Regions from separate parts of the Homo sapiens genome. Here all the other regions are linked to region 3. The links are contacts of gene promoters, found by promoter capture Hi-C in human tissues and cell types (Jung and others, 2019). All regions are on one chromosome and are shown on one strand. Each heading gives the region's core, a stretch centred on a gene start or on the middle of the fragment in contact. The rest is flanking DNA. Distances are from core to core; before and after follow the strand shown. Region 1 overlaps LIMD1 (LIM domain containing 1). Region 2 overlaps SACM1L (SAC1 like phosphatidylinositide phosphatase). Region 3 holds the start of FYCO1 (FYVE and coiled-coil domain autophagy adaptor 1).

Evidence for each region. Contacts are between HindIII fragments. The study calls those that stand out against the background at their distance.
Region 1: a fragment that was not itself captured here is called in contact with the fragment with the promoter of FYCO1 in region 3 in 1 of the 25 tissues and cell types used here (bladder).
Region 2: a contact is called between a fragment that was not itself captured here and the fragment with the promoter of FYCO1 in region 3, in 1 of the 25 tissues and cell types used here (dorsolateral prefrontal cortex).

What each region holds. Positions count from the first base shown.
Region 1 is chr3:45,660,110-45,664,428 of GRCh38, reverse strand. All of the region lies in intron 2 of LIMD1 (LIM domain containing 1), which reads right to left. Among named protein-coding and RNA genes, the nearest start is that of LIMD1-AS1, 27 kb to the left of the region's middle. The HindIII fragment of the contact is 5,401 bases long and covers 1-4,256 here.
Region 2 is chr3:45,692,055-45,696,131 of GRCh38, reverse strand. All of the region lies in intron 1 of SACM1L (SAC1 like phosphatidylinositide phosphatase), which reads right to left. Among named protein-coding and RNA genes, the nearest start is that of SACM1L, 4.7 kb to the right of the region's middle. RefSeq lists an enhancer at 1,848-1,987. The HindIII fragment of the contact is 4,754 bases long and covers 1-4,077 here.
Region 3 is chr3:45,994,005-45,998,367 of GRCh38, reverse strand. FYCO1 (FYVE and coiled-coil domain autophagy adaptor 1) reads left to right here and starts at 2,544. Exons shown (of 18, transcript NM_024513.4): 1 at 2,544-2,646. It overlaps LOC105377063 (a long non-coding RNA gene), which reads right to left and starts at 2,465. Exons shown (of 3, transcript XR_940799.3): 1 at 2,279-2,465. RefSeq lists enhancers at 2,516-2,675, 2,696-2,745, 2,246-2,745. The HindIII fragment of the contact is 4,281 bases long and covers 1-3,396 here.

The DNA of each region.
Region 1 (4,319 bases), core at 307-2,806, 330 kb after region 3:
CTTGGAGGGGAAGCTTTGGCAATACTCTAACAGAGTGCAGTACATGTTGAGTTAAAGAAAAAAGGAAGAGTAAGCCATGGATCAGAAGATGGCCAAAGCACATATAAAATGCTATTAGTATCTGGCCGGGCACAGTTGTTCACGTCTGTAGTCCCAGCATTTTGGGAGGCTGACACGGGAGGATCACTTGAGGTCAGGAGTTTGGGACCAGCCTGGCCAACATGGTGAAACTTTGTCTCTACAAAAGGTACAAAAATTGGCCGGGCACAGTGGCTCAAGCCTGTAGTGCCAGCACTTTGGGAGGCTGAGGCAGGTGGATCACCTGAGGTCAGGAGTTCGAGATCAGCCTGGCCAATATGGTGAAACCCCATCTCTACTAAAAATACAAAAAAGAGCTGGGCATGGTGGCATGCACCTGTAACCCCAGCTACTTGGGAGACTGAGGCAGGAGAATCGCCTGCACCTAGGAGGCGGAGGTTGCAGTGAGCCGAGATCATGCCACTGCACTCCAGCCTGGGTGACAGAGGGAGACTCTGTCTCAAAAAAAAAAAAAAAAAAAATTAGCCAGGCATGGTGCCACGCACTACTTGGGAGTCTGAGGCAGAAGAATCACTTGAACCCAGGAGGTGGAGATTGCAGTGAGTCAAGACTGGGCAACAGAGCAAGACTCTGTCTCAAAAATAAATAAATAAAATAAATTAAAATAGTATTAGTACCTAAGACACAAAGAACACCAATTAATAAGAAAAAGATAAATAATCCAATGGGGAAATGAGCAAAGGGCAGGAAGAGAAAGTGCATAGAATAGAAAACCTGTTATACCTTAGGAATAACCAGGATTATTAATCATAACCCCAATATCTATAATAAAAAGATGTTCTATCCTATCAACAATCAGGATAATGCAAACTAAAACCACAATGAGATTCTATCTCACTTTCATAGATTGGCAAAAATTACTAAATCTAATAGCATGTCTTGGAAGGTGTGGGACAAGAGGAGCCCTTTCACACTGGTGGGAGTATCATCAACTGGGATGACTACTTGGGAACAATTTGTCAAGGGCCAATAGATCTGAAAATACACATAATCCACAACACACTTCTAAGGTTGCCCCTTGAGAAGATTACCCAAACATGCATGAGGACAGACATGTATGGATGTTCACGGCAACGTTGTTATGGAAAAACTAGAAGCGTCTTCAGTGTTCACTAGATATGAGAATTGATAAATAGACGAAGAAACTGGAGCTGTATTTACTGGATGTAATACCAGACAGCAGTCAAAATGAAAGGGCTAGATCTATGCATATCATTATTAATTGAACTGAACACCAGTGCAAATAAGGCAAAATGCCTGAAGATATACCAATGATCGTATATGTGTAAGTTTGAGAGTGCGCACACACACATACACAAACTAGTACTGTTTTGTTTTTTTTTTTTGAGACGGAGTCTCGCTGTGTCGCCCAGGCTGGAGTGCAGTGGCACGATCTTGGTTCACTGCAGCCTCTGCCTCCCAGGTTCAAGTGATTCTCCTGCCTCAGCCTCCCAAGCAACTGGGATTACAGGCACTCACCACCATACCCGGCTAATTTTTGTATTTTTAGTAGAGATGGTGGCCAGGCTGGTCTCGAACTCCTGACCTCAGGTGATCCACCCACCTCGGCCTCCCAAAGTGCTGGGATTACAGGTGTGAGCCACCATGCCCGGCCACAAACTAGTACTGTAAACTAGTACTGTATGTTTTTTATTGACAATAGTATATATGGTAACAGTAGGAAAATTTCAATTCATAATGGCAGCTGCCCTAGGGAAGGAAGGGAGAGGATGGGAAAAGGAATCAAGATGATTCCAATTTTTATATAATATTTTATTTCCTTTATAAAAATACAGAATCAAAGCTACAATGTAAAAATGTCTGTGCATTCTGGGTGATAGGTAAATAAGGATTATTTCCTATAGTACTTTCCAGTAGGTTTTAAAATACACACACAATTTTTATATATTTAATTTCCTTTATAAAAAATATCAAACCAAAACTATAATGTAAAAATGTCTGTGCATTCTGGGTGACAGGTAAATAAGGATTATTTCCCATAGTACCTTCCAGTAGGTTTTACACGCGCACACACACACACACACACACACACTTAGGTGAAACACCGTAAACGAAAAGGCAATAACAAACTAGAGCAAACATCTATACTGTATGACAGAAAAGGATGTAACTCTAATATGAAAATAACTCAAGTAACAGTCCTATATAAAAAATGGGTAAAGAATAGGCAGACAAACCACAAAATAAGTATGAATGATCAATAACTATAAAATAAAATCTTTAGCTTTCCTCATGATTTAAAAAATATTGCTGCCAGGCACAGTGGCTCACACCTGTAATTCCAACACTTTGGGAGGCCAAGGTGGGAGGATCACTTGAACCCAGGAGCTCAAGACCAGCCTAGGCAACACAGCAAGATCCCATCTCTACAAATAATAAAAAAGTTAGCTAGGTGTAGTGGGGCACGCCTGTAGTCCCAGCTACTTAGGAGGCTGAGCTAGGAGGATCACTTGTGCCTAGAGGTTGAGACTGCAGTGAGCTGAGATCACGTCTGTGCACGCCAGCCTGGGCAATAGAGTGAGACTCTGTCTCTCCAAAAACAAACAACAACAAAAAACCCTATGCTTTACCTATCAGACTAGCAAAGCTTAAAAAGAATGATAACCCCAGTGTTAGTAATGACACAGACAAACAGATACTTGTTCACACTCTGCAAGGGATAGCAGAAGCTAAAACAAGCTCTTAGGAGAGAAATTTGTATTAAATGTCAGTAGAATTTACAAAGTTCAGATATTTTCTCCCCAAAAATTCTATTTCAGGAATTTATCCTAGTTCCAGAAATCGTCATCTCAGATTTATAATAGCTTGCTAAAAATGAGCATCAAATGTCCAATTCCTATTAAATGATAACCCATATACATGTTGGAATATTATGCAGCCATAAAAAGATTGTGTTTTCAAAAAAATATTTATTGACAGGGAAAAATACTTAAAATATTTTAAAGGAAGTATATAAGTATGTGGGTTACAGTTATGAACACACTCACATATATGATGACAAAATTATGTGTACACTCATACACATAAGATGTACACCAAATTTTAAGTCATTATCTTTGAGTGTAAGAAATAGGTGATTTTCAATTACCATTTTTTCCTGCAATAATTATGCATTATTTTTATAACCTGAAACAAAGTTTAATGGAGTAGGGGAATGTGGGTGGGGGTGCATGGAAGGGATAATAGGACTTACATAGAAGGCCACAACTCTTTAGGTCTCCAAAGCTGCTCTCTTGTCCTCCCCTCAAAGTTACTGTTGCCCTCTCTTCTAGAAGGTCCCCATCCTTGAACGTTCGCAGTATTTTCTGACTCTGCTAAACTAAGGTACCAAGAATGTCTACCTACAGCTGGGTGATCTCAGGGATCATCATCAGAACCCCCTTGACAGCCATGGAAATTAATTTCAGTTACTTAAACTTTCTCTCTATAAAGGGACTCCAGAGAACTCGAAGTTTTAGAAAAGAAAATGAGAACTAACTAGAGTATCTTTCCCATACTTTTCCCACGTCGGACACCTACCTGGGTGACAGCTGATCTGCTGCCCTCTGTCCCTCCCCAGGAACAAGGTGACGAGGAACACAAACAGCCCACCTGGCCGGGCGCGGTGGCTCACGCCTGTGATCCCAGCACTCTGGGAGGCTGAGGCTGTTGGACCACTTGAGATCACGAGTTCGAGACCAGCCTGGCCAACATGGCGAAACCTCATCTCCACTAAAAATACAAAAATTAGCTTGGCATGGTGGCACGCGCCTATAATCCTAGCTACTTGGGAGGCCGCGGTAGGAGAATCGCTTGAACCTGGGAGGCGGAGGCTGCAGGAAGCTAAGATCGCGCCATTGCACTCTAGCCTTTATGACAGAGAGAGACTCCGTCTCGGGAAAAAAAAAAAAAAAAAAAAAAAAAGACAGCCCACCTAAGAGAAGCTTGCTCAACCAGTAAGCAAAACTATTCACACACTGTCTGATCACAAAGTCCAAATCTTTACTTGTGGAGCTCCCCACTTTCGCCTCTTCCTTCTCGGAATTCCCGCAGGGTAAACTCATTCCTCAAGAGAGGAAAGAAGGTGGGGCTGCAGTTGCGGATGGGGCCCCTAGAGGGAGCTAGGAGGCCACCAGGAAACGGCGCAGGACTTCCAGAGCTTAGGCTTCTGATCCAATGTATGGAGAACACAGCAAACAGCACTTTGGTTCCAGGAATGG
Region 2 (4,077 bases), core at 701-3,200, 300 kb after region 3:
CAGCTACTTAGGAGGCTAAGGCAGGAGAATTGCTTGAACCCAGGAGGCAGAGGTTGCAGTGGGCCGAGATCGCACCACTGTACTCCAGCATAGGCAACAGAGCGAGACTCCATCTCAAAAAAAAAAAAAAAAAAGGAAATTCTGACACATGCTACACAATGGATGAACCTTAAGGACATTATGCTAAGTGAAATAAACCAGTCATAAAAGGACAAATACTGCCACTTCATGAGGCATCTAGAGAAGTCAAATTTATAGAGACAGAAAGTAGAACGGTGGTTGCCAGGGGCTGGGAGGATACAGAAATGGGGAGTTGTTTAATGGGTACAGAGTTTATTTTTGCAAGATGAAAACGGTTCTGGTGATGGATGGTGATAACGGTTGTACAACATGAATGTGCTTATTGCCCCTGAACTGTATACTTAAAAATGGTTGAGATGGTAAATTTAATGTTTTATTTTACCACAATTTTTAAAAATAATGAAACCACTATTTTGCATAGGAGCCACAGTGATATGTCATAAAACTGTAGCAAGAACATATTCCCTCAAAAATCTTACGTAAAGAATTTGGCTGGGTGCAGTGGCTCATGCCTGTAATCCCAACACTTTGGGAGGCCGAGGCAGGTGGATCACTTGAGGTCAGGAGATCAAGACCAGCCTGGCCAACATGGTGAAACTCTGTCTCTACTAACAATACAAAAATTAGCCGGGCCTGGTGGTGCATGCCTGTAGTCCCAGCTACAAGGGAGGCTGAGGCACAAGAATCACTTGAACCTGGGAGGTGGTGGTTGTGGTGAGCCGAGACTGCGCCACTGCACTCCAGCCTGGGCAACAGAGTGAGACCCCATCTCAAAAAAAAAAAAGAATTAAATCAAGGTCTTAATGATCAAATTTAATACATCTCTGGTTGAAAAGACAGAGGCACAACACTTTACTAGGTTTGGTGAGCAAAAAGAAAACAACTTAGTAAAGAAGGATCCCCTGCACATACTACACTCATAGGCAGAAGGTGCTCCTACCTCCCCCATTCATCCTCCCTTTGGGTATCTCCTCACTGAGCCCTCCCTGGTTGCCTCTCCTATAGCTCAAGTTCATCACAGACTCCCCAGGGGCACAACCCAATTCCAAACCAGTTGGTGTTTCTAGAAAGACTCATTCTAATGCTATCCTCTTTCTCAAAACTCTGTGTTCCCACCTATATCCTATTCCCTGAATGCCCTAAAACCCATTCTCTCAACCAGACTTCTTCACAGGACTAGGTCCAAATTCCACCTAATCTGAAGCTCTAATCCACAGCACAATCTACCAGAGCCCCATATCTTCCAAAGAATTCTCTTCTACCAGCATGTTCTGGTCCTAACTCAGCTATGTATGCCCAGCCCTAAAATATTTCAGAGTGCATAAAAACTACCAGGATAGCTAGTTAAACTTGCAGATTTCCACCGCTCATCCCCAGAGATTTTCACTCAGTAGGCCTAATGTGGGGCCCTGGAATACGCACTTAAAACAAGCATACCAAGTCATTTGATGTAGCCTAGCACTAACCTAGGCTAGCCACGTGAGCCTAGGTAAGCCTGAACTAGCCTGAACTCCCAGCCAACTAATGCTTTGGATACAAACCCCATATTGTCTGTGCTAAAACTCATGAGAATAATCTGAGCTGCCCTACACCCTTCCCTCCACCGGGAGACTTCTGTGAATAATATGAATGTTCATTATATTGAACAGATTATATGTGTCTGTATCACAAGGTAGCTTAGGTTACATCTGTTTTCAAGGTTGGATCATATCTGCCCTGACTGATGACCTCACAGTTATGAGACTCTTTTAAAAATGGCAATTTCCTGAGGAAACAGTACTCTTCAGAGGCATGCTGCAGCCTGATGCAGTAACTAAAGGATTCCCTGCCTTACACCTAGTTTCAACTGACCTTTTAAAAGAAAAAGAAAAAAAAAGAAGAAAAAATGCTTTAAATGTATCCAATAATTTTGCACCTCTAACTTTCCACTGAACCTTTTAGAAAGTTATTATGAGCTTGAGGTCTGAGGGGCCTAAGAAGTGCCCAAACCACATTTGATGTCATTTCCCTGCAAAGGAAATGTGACACCTACGCCGAACTGCCAAGGTATTTTAGCTTATATACAGGGATAGATAAGCTTCTTAAAAATTACATTTCCAGTCTAATTATTTTGCAATTTCAAATTTATCACTGTCTGACATTATCCATGCCTATACAAATGGCTTAAAAAGAAAAATGGAGCCTAACAGGATATTTAGAACTGCCTGGAAGTTTAAAAAGTATGAATTTTAAATTCTGAGCAAATCAATATTCTGTTTTCCACATTAAACATATGGAAATTAATATGGACATGTCAACTATATTTGGTTGTAAGTGACTCATTTCAATACCTGGCATGTCTGAGGACTAATGCGAGAGCAATCTGGTAAGAGAAAAAAAGGTCATATGGATAATGCAATGAAATGGAAAGATCACTGGACTCTGGACCAGCCGTATTCCAAGGCTAGCTCTACCATGGCTTGGCTGTATGATCTGACTTTGTGGCCAAGGGCAATTATGAGACTGTTTTCAACAATGACAGGATACCTATCAACCTATGACCTCACAGAGACACTGGGAAGACAATATACATGAAATGACTTTTAAGCTGTGTTTCTTCAAAACGATACATTCCAAATTACCCTAGACTGTGTTCTTTTTGCAGTGCTAGTACGTGGTCTATACTGGAAAGTTCCTTTCATTTACTCAGTTGATTCACTGAGGAGCTGCTCTGCACAAGGCTCTATGTTAGGTACTGAGGAGGACTAGAGAAGAAAATGTTAAGGTGTAAACTGGTTGGAGAAACAAAGTACAGCCATGTGCCATGTAACAATGCTTTGGTCAACGACAGACTACACATATGATGGTGGTCCTATAAGCTTATAATACCGTATATTTACTGTACCTTTTCTTGTTTATGTATGTATACATACACAAATCTTTACCATTGTGTTGCAACTGCCTACAGTATTCAGTACAGTAACCTGCTGTACAGGTTTGTAGCCTAGGAACAACTGGCTATTCCATATAGCCTAGGTGTGTAGTAGGCTGTACCATCTAGGTTTGTGTAATTATACTCTGATGTTTGTACAAAGAAGTTGCCTAACATATTTCTAACATATTTCTCAGAATGTATCTCTGTCAGTAAGAGTCACATAACGGTGTACATAATGATTTCATTTCTAAGTGACAAAATGAGTGGTTCAAACAGTACTATGGATTGACCATTCTAGCTTTCCATCCTCTTGTCCATGAGAAAGTAAATGCACTGTAAACTGATCCTAAGAGACAGAATACATAAATCATGTAAACATTTGGTGTCTAACCCTGTTACAATAATTTTTCATTTTTGGCTTTAAAAACTGTTACCAGAACTCAGTGAAGGAAAAGACATGGAAAGAAAACATTTCTCAAAGAAGGTACCTATGAGGTACACTAAGTACTTCATCTAAACTCTCTTTGGGCCAGGCATGGTGGCTCATGCCAGTAATTCCAGCACTTTGGGAGGCCAGGGTGCATGGATCACTTAAGACGAGGAGTTCAAGTTTCAGCAACATGGCGAAACTGAAAAACAGAAAAAATCAGCCAGACATGGTGATGTGCACCTGTAGTCCCAGATGCTTTGGGGGCTGAGGTGAGAGGATCACTTGAGCCTGGGAGGCTGAGGCTGCAGTGAGCTGAGCTCACACCACTGCACTCCAGCCTGGGTGACAAGTGAGACCCTGTCTCACAAAAATAATAAAAAAAAAAAAAAACTCTCTTTCAAACCTTACAATAATCCTGTGAAGTATCAACATTCCCATTTTACAGACTGAAACACCAATTCAGAAGGATTAAGTACTATGCCCAGGACACAAAACAAGTAGTCAAGTTAAGATATGAATCCATATCCATTCTGACTAACAAAACCTGAGATCTCTTGGCTCTACCATGGATGTGACCAGTATGTAAAGAGAACAGAGAGGAAGAAGGCATTCTGGGTAGAAGGATCAAAATAACACCCAAGTTTGAAGCTAG
Region 3 (4,363 bases), core at 1,295-3,794:
CTAATTATGTCACCAAGTGGCTGCAAGTTTTAAATATAATGCTGAATGGGTTTTTGTTGTTGTTTTTTGTTTTTTTGCTGGGGGGCTAGGGACTGGCATATAGGTCCTCAATAAATATTAGGTTTGTTTTCCTTTTCTTTTCAAACTCCTTTTGGGTTTAAGTTTCTGTGGTATTATGATGTCTGTCTATCTGTCTGTCTATCTATCTATCTATCTATCTATCTATCTATCTATCTATCTATCTATCTTGGTTTTCTTCCATGGTTCCTGGCTCATAACTCCCATAGCCCTTGTTACAGTCTTTTGTTATGTTAGGTATGTTAGGCTTCAGGAAACCGAATCTCTCTGGCCTTCTGCCCTCCTTTCACCTGCTTTAAGGCAGGACTCTAATCTTCCCCCGCCTTTCTTTCTTTTTTTTTTTCTTTAAGATGGAGTTTTGCTCTTGTTGCCCAGGCTGGAGTGCAATGGCTCGATCTTGGCTCACCGCAACCTCCGCCTCCCGGGTTCAAGCGATTCTCCTGCCTCAGCCTCCCTAGAAGCTGGGATTATAGGCATGTGCCACCACGCCCGGCTAATTTTGTATTTTTAATAGAGATGGGGTTTCTCCATGTTGGTCAGGCTGGTCTCAAACTCCCGACCTCAGGTGATCCGCCCACCTCGGCCTCCCAAGGCGTGAGCTGGGATTACAGGCGTGAGCCACCGTGCCCAGCCGCTTCCCCCGCCTTTCTGATTATAGGTCTTAAGACCCTCCCAAGAGAGGGTCCTCCCCTATACCCTGGGGGAAGCAATGCTGACATCACGAAGCTTCCATAAAAGCCCAAGAGGACTGGATTCGGGGAGCTTCGGGATAGCTGAACACGTGGAGGTTACTGAAGAGTGGTGCATCCAGGGAAGGCATGGAAGCCCCACGCCCCTTCCTCCACACCTCATCCTACGTGTCTCTTTATCTGCATCCATTGCAGTATCCTTTATAATAGACCAGTAAATGTGTTTCTCTGAGTTCTATGAACCACTTTAGCAAATTAGCTGAACCCAAAGAGGGTGTCGTGGGAACTCAACTTGAAGCCAGTCATTCCAAAATTCTGGAGGCCTAGACTTACAACTGGTGTTTAAAGGTGAGGAGGCAGTCTTGGGGACTGAGCCCTCCACTTGTGGGATCTGATACTCCAGGTAGATAGTGTCGGAATTGAATTGGAGGACACCCAGGTGCGGTCCACTGCTCAGTGTGTGGGGAAAACCCCACACACATCTGGTCACCAAATTATTCTCCTGTGTTGATGATTGCTGTTGTGTAAGAGTAGAGGAAAAATACGGTTTGAGGGAGGTTTTTTTTTCCCCACACAGTTTCAAACAAGGATATTGGACCAGATGACCAACATTAAAATCTCTCTCATCCTTAATATTGCATGAAGCTGTTCAGACAGTGGTTGGAGCAATGATTTCTCTTAGACCACTACATTGATTACTTTTCTCTTTGTCATCTTCTCACTCCCCCCGTTTTCTTTCTGTTCTCCTTTCTGTTAACAAGAGTGGAAATCACTTCTATTCATGTACCTCCTCCCAACCCCACCCCCAAACTGACTACTCCATCCATCCAACTCACTGTTTTAGCTACATCTAATTTATAAAATTAGATGGCTAATGAGATGTCATAGCCTAAAATCGACTAAGAAATTGATTTTCTTTCTGTATTATTGTACCCAGACAACACCCTGCTTCCTCAGTTTAGAATGTTGGGCCACCACGGTTCCTGACTGGATACCACGAGCTAGGTCCTACAAGGGAGAGAGCTGTTTCTGGCTTAAATGATGAGAACTAGGGCAGAGAGTAAAGGATAGCCAGCCACAGCTAAGGAATGCAGTCAGTTAGAAGCCAAAGTCCCCGTGTAGTGTTCCTCTTTTCTACTGTGCCCATAGCGGACACTGATTGAATGCATTTTGTTCTATCGTATTCAGTTCCACAGTGCTTTGCAACACCCATCTTATAAATAGAAGTTGGGCTGAGGATGGGGCCAAAGTTAGGGGTGGTAGTTCATAAACACGTAGTTTTTGAGCACTAATTTTAAGTAAGACCCTGATATTAAGAAATAAGGGGGATTAAAAGATGGGAAATTAGGCCCACCAATACATGTTTTTCTATTTCCCAATATATCAAAATATTATCATTTTAACATGCAATCACTAAAAATTAATGAGCTAGTTAACATTCTTCGGACTCTTTGGTACCTAGGTGTATTTCACACTTACAGCACGTGCACGATTCAACTCGAACTAGCTACCTTTGGAGTGCTCCTTAGCCACACAAGAACAGCGTTGTTGTCAAGATGCCAGACCTTTGATTTGTGGCCCTCCGGGGTTGCAGGCGTTAACCTGGGGCCAGCATGGGTCGCGGGTGGGACAGTCGGTCCGGGGACTGGGCGGTGGGAGCACTTAAACCCCGCCCTGCGGAGTCGCCGGGAGTTGTAGTCGGAGCCCCGGGAGTCCGATGGGAGTTGCAGGCCTCAGCCCCGGGGAGCACGCCGGGAGTTGTAGTCCGCCCCCGCCACCCTCTTGGTGTGCGCGTCATGGCCGTCAGCACCGCGTTCCCGTCCTCTTCCGCTTGGCCCCAGAAAGTTTCGGTTCTGCCCGGCGGTGGACCCACGAGCGCGTAAGTGCCGCGGAAGACCGGCTGGACTCTGGGGGCACCTGGGTCGCTCACGATCCCTGAGGCGAGAGCTTCGCTCGGGGCGCGGCTTGTCACCTGTTGCCCTTACAGTCCCCGCCCATCCCAGGTCTCCCTCAGACCCTGCCCGAGCGCCCCCGTCCTTGCCCAGCGGGCCGGGAAGCACCTCGGGCAGGTGGAAGCCGGCCCAGGCACCCAGCCTGCCTCTGTTGGTCGGTTAGAAAGACAGACCCCAAACACCAGTTCCAAGACCCCGGAGGGCGGAGGGCCCGCAAAGGAAAGGAGCCCACCATGCGGCGTCTCAGAACAAGCCTGAATGTCTTAGCGCAGGATGGGGCAGGCCCCGGAGTTCCTGCCTGCGTGGTCTTTAGGAAGTTTAGTCTCTGGCCCAGTTGGGCCGGGACAGCCCAGACCTTCACTTTGCAAGACTCCGCTGGTGCTCGGATCTCTGCCCTCTTCCCAGGAGGGGAAGAAGCTTCTTTCTTCCTGGCCCATCCTTTGGCCAAGACCTATTCACTATCCACTGCCCCTTGTGCCCATGCGCAGGGTCTCGAGCTAGCCCCCAGGGGTCTTTTCCCGAAACACCTGTTGTCTCTGGTGTGGCGGCACTGCACTGGACTGGAGTCCGTGCTGTTGAAACCTGGCGGGGGTGGGGCGGGGAGGGGGGAGGATGGCGGGATTTTATTTTTTGTAAGAAAAGCACATGTGGTTGACACGTTAACCGCGTGGCCCCCTGTTAAAGCACATGTATTCTCTGATGTCCCTGTCACTCTTCACTGTTCCCATTGGGTGTCCTCTCCAGAAAAAAAAATAGAACACTTGTTGAAACTGCCTGTGTTGGCCAGAGCCTCTCAGCCCCTCTGCTTGTCTTACCACAGCAGTTTCCTTTCCCGACAGAGAAATGGGTCAGGGGCTTTTGCGGGGCAGAGGATCCAGGGCTTAATCTGCTCACTGGTTCTCCTGCCCGTGCAGGCCTTGTGGTCTCAGGCTGCAAGCTTAATTCCCCTGCCATCTGCCTAATGCGGCTGGAGGGTGTTGGGGGCTGGTGTGGGGGAGGGGTGGGGAGCTGGAGCTATCATGCCAAGGTTTTCTGCTTTCAGTAGTTCCCACCTTCTGAAGTGGACCCCTGTTGAGTGAGCTCCACTTGACCCTCCCTTCTGTGACAACCACTGTTCTGAAAGCATTGAATGCCCCATACTAGTTGTGCACCGTGGTTATTATCACCCTGAAAATAAGAGCTAATTGTCACAGTGATGGATCTCAGCCTCCTTTGATTAATAGGATCTCTCCTAAAGGCTCTTGCTTTAGGAAATAGAGTTTATCTGTTTATGTTCAAAGTGACTATCTTTGTGTAGCACTTCATTTACTTTTTAAATTGTTTTTAATATTTTATTAGAAAAATAAACATACAGAATCACTGAAAGGATTGTATGGTGAATATCCGTATACTCAATTCTTAATATTTTACTTTGATTTTTTTTTTTTTTTGCAGTTACTTTAGAGATTGGTAACAGTCTCAGGCAGTGATCCTTTAGCTGTTGTTCCGATGACCTTTGCCCCTTGGGGCTGGGTTTGGAGCACCAGTATAATTTCAGGAGCCAAGTTTTTAACCTGGTCCTTTTTGAGGGGGATGGCCCCCATAGATGTTTGTGATGAGAGGAATCACCCATAACAGAGCAAGATCAGAGCAGCTGGTAGCTTT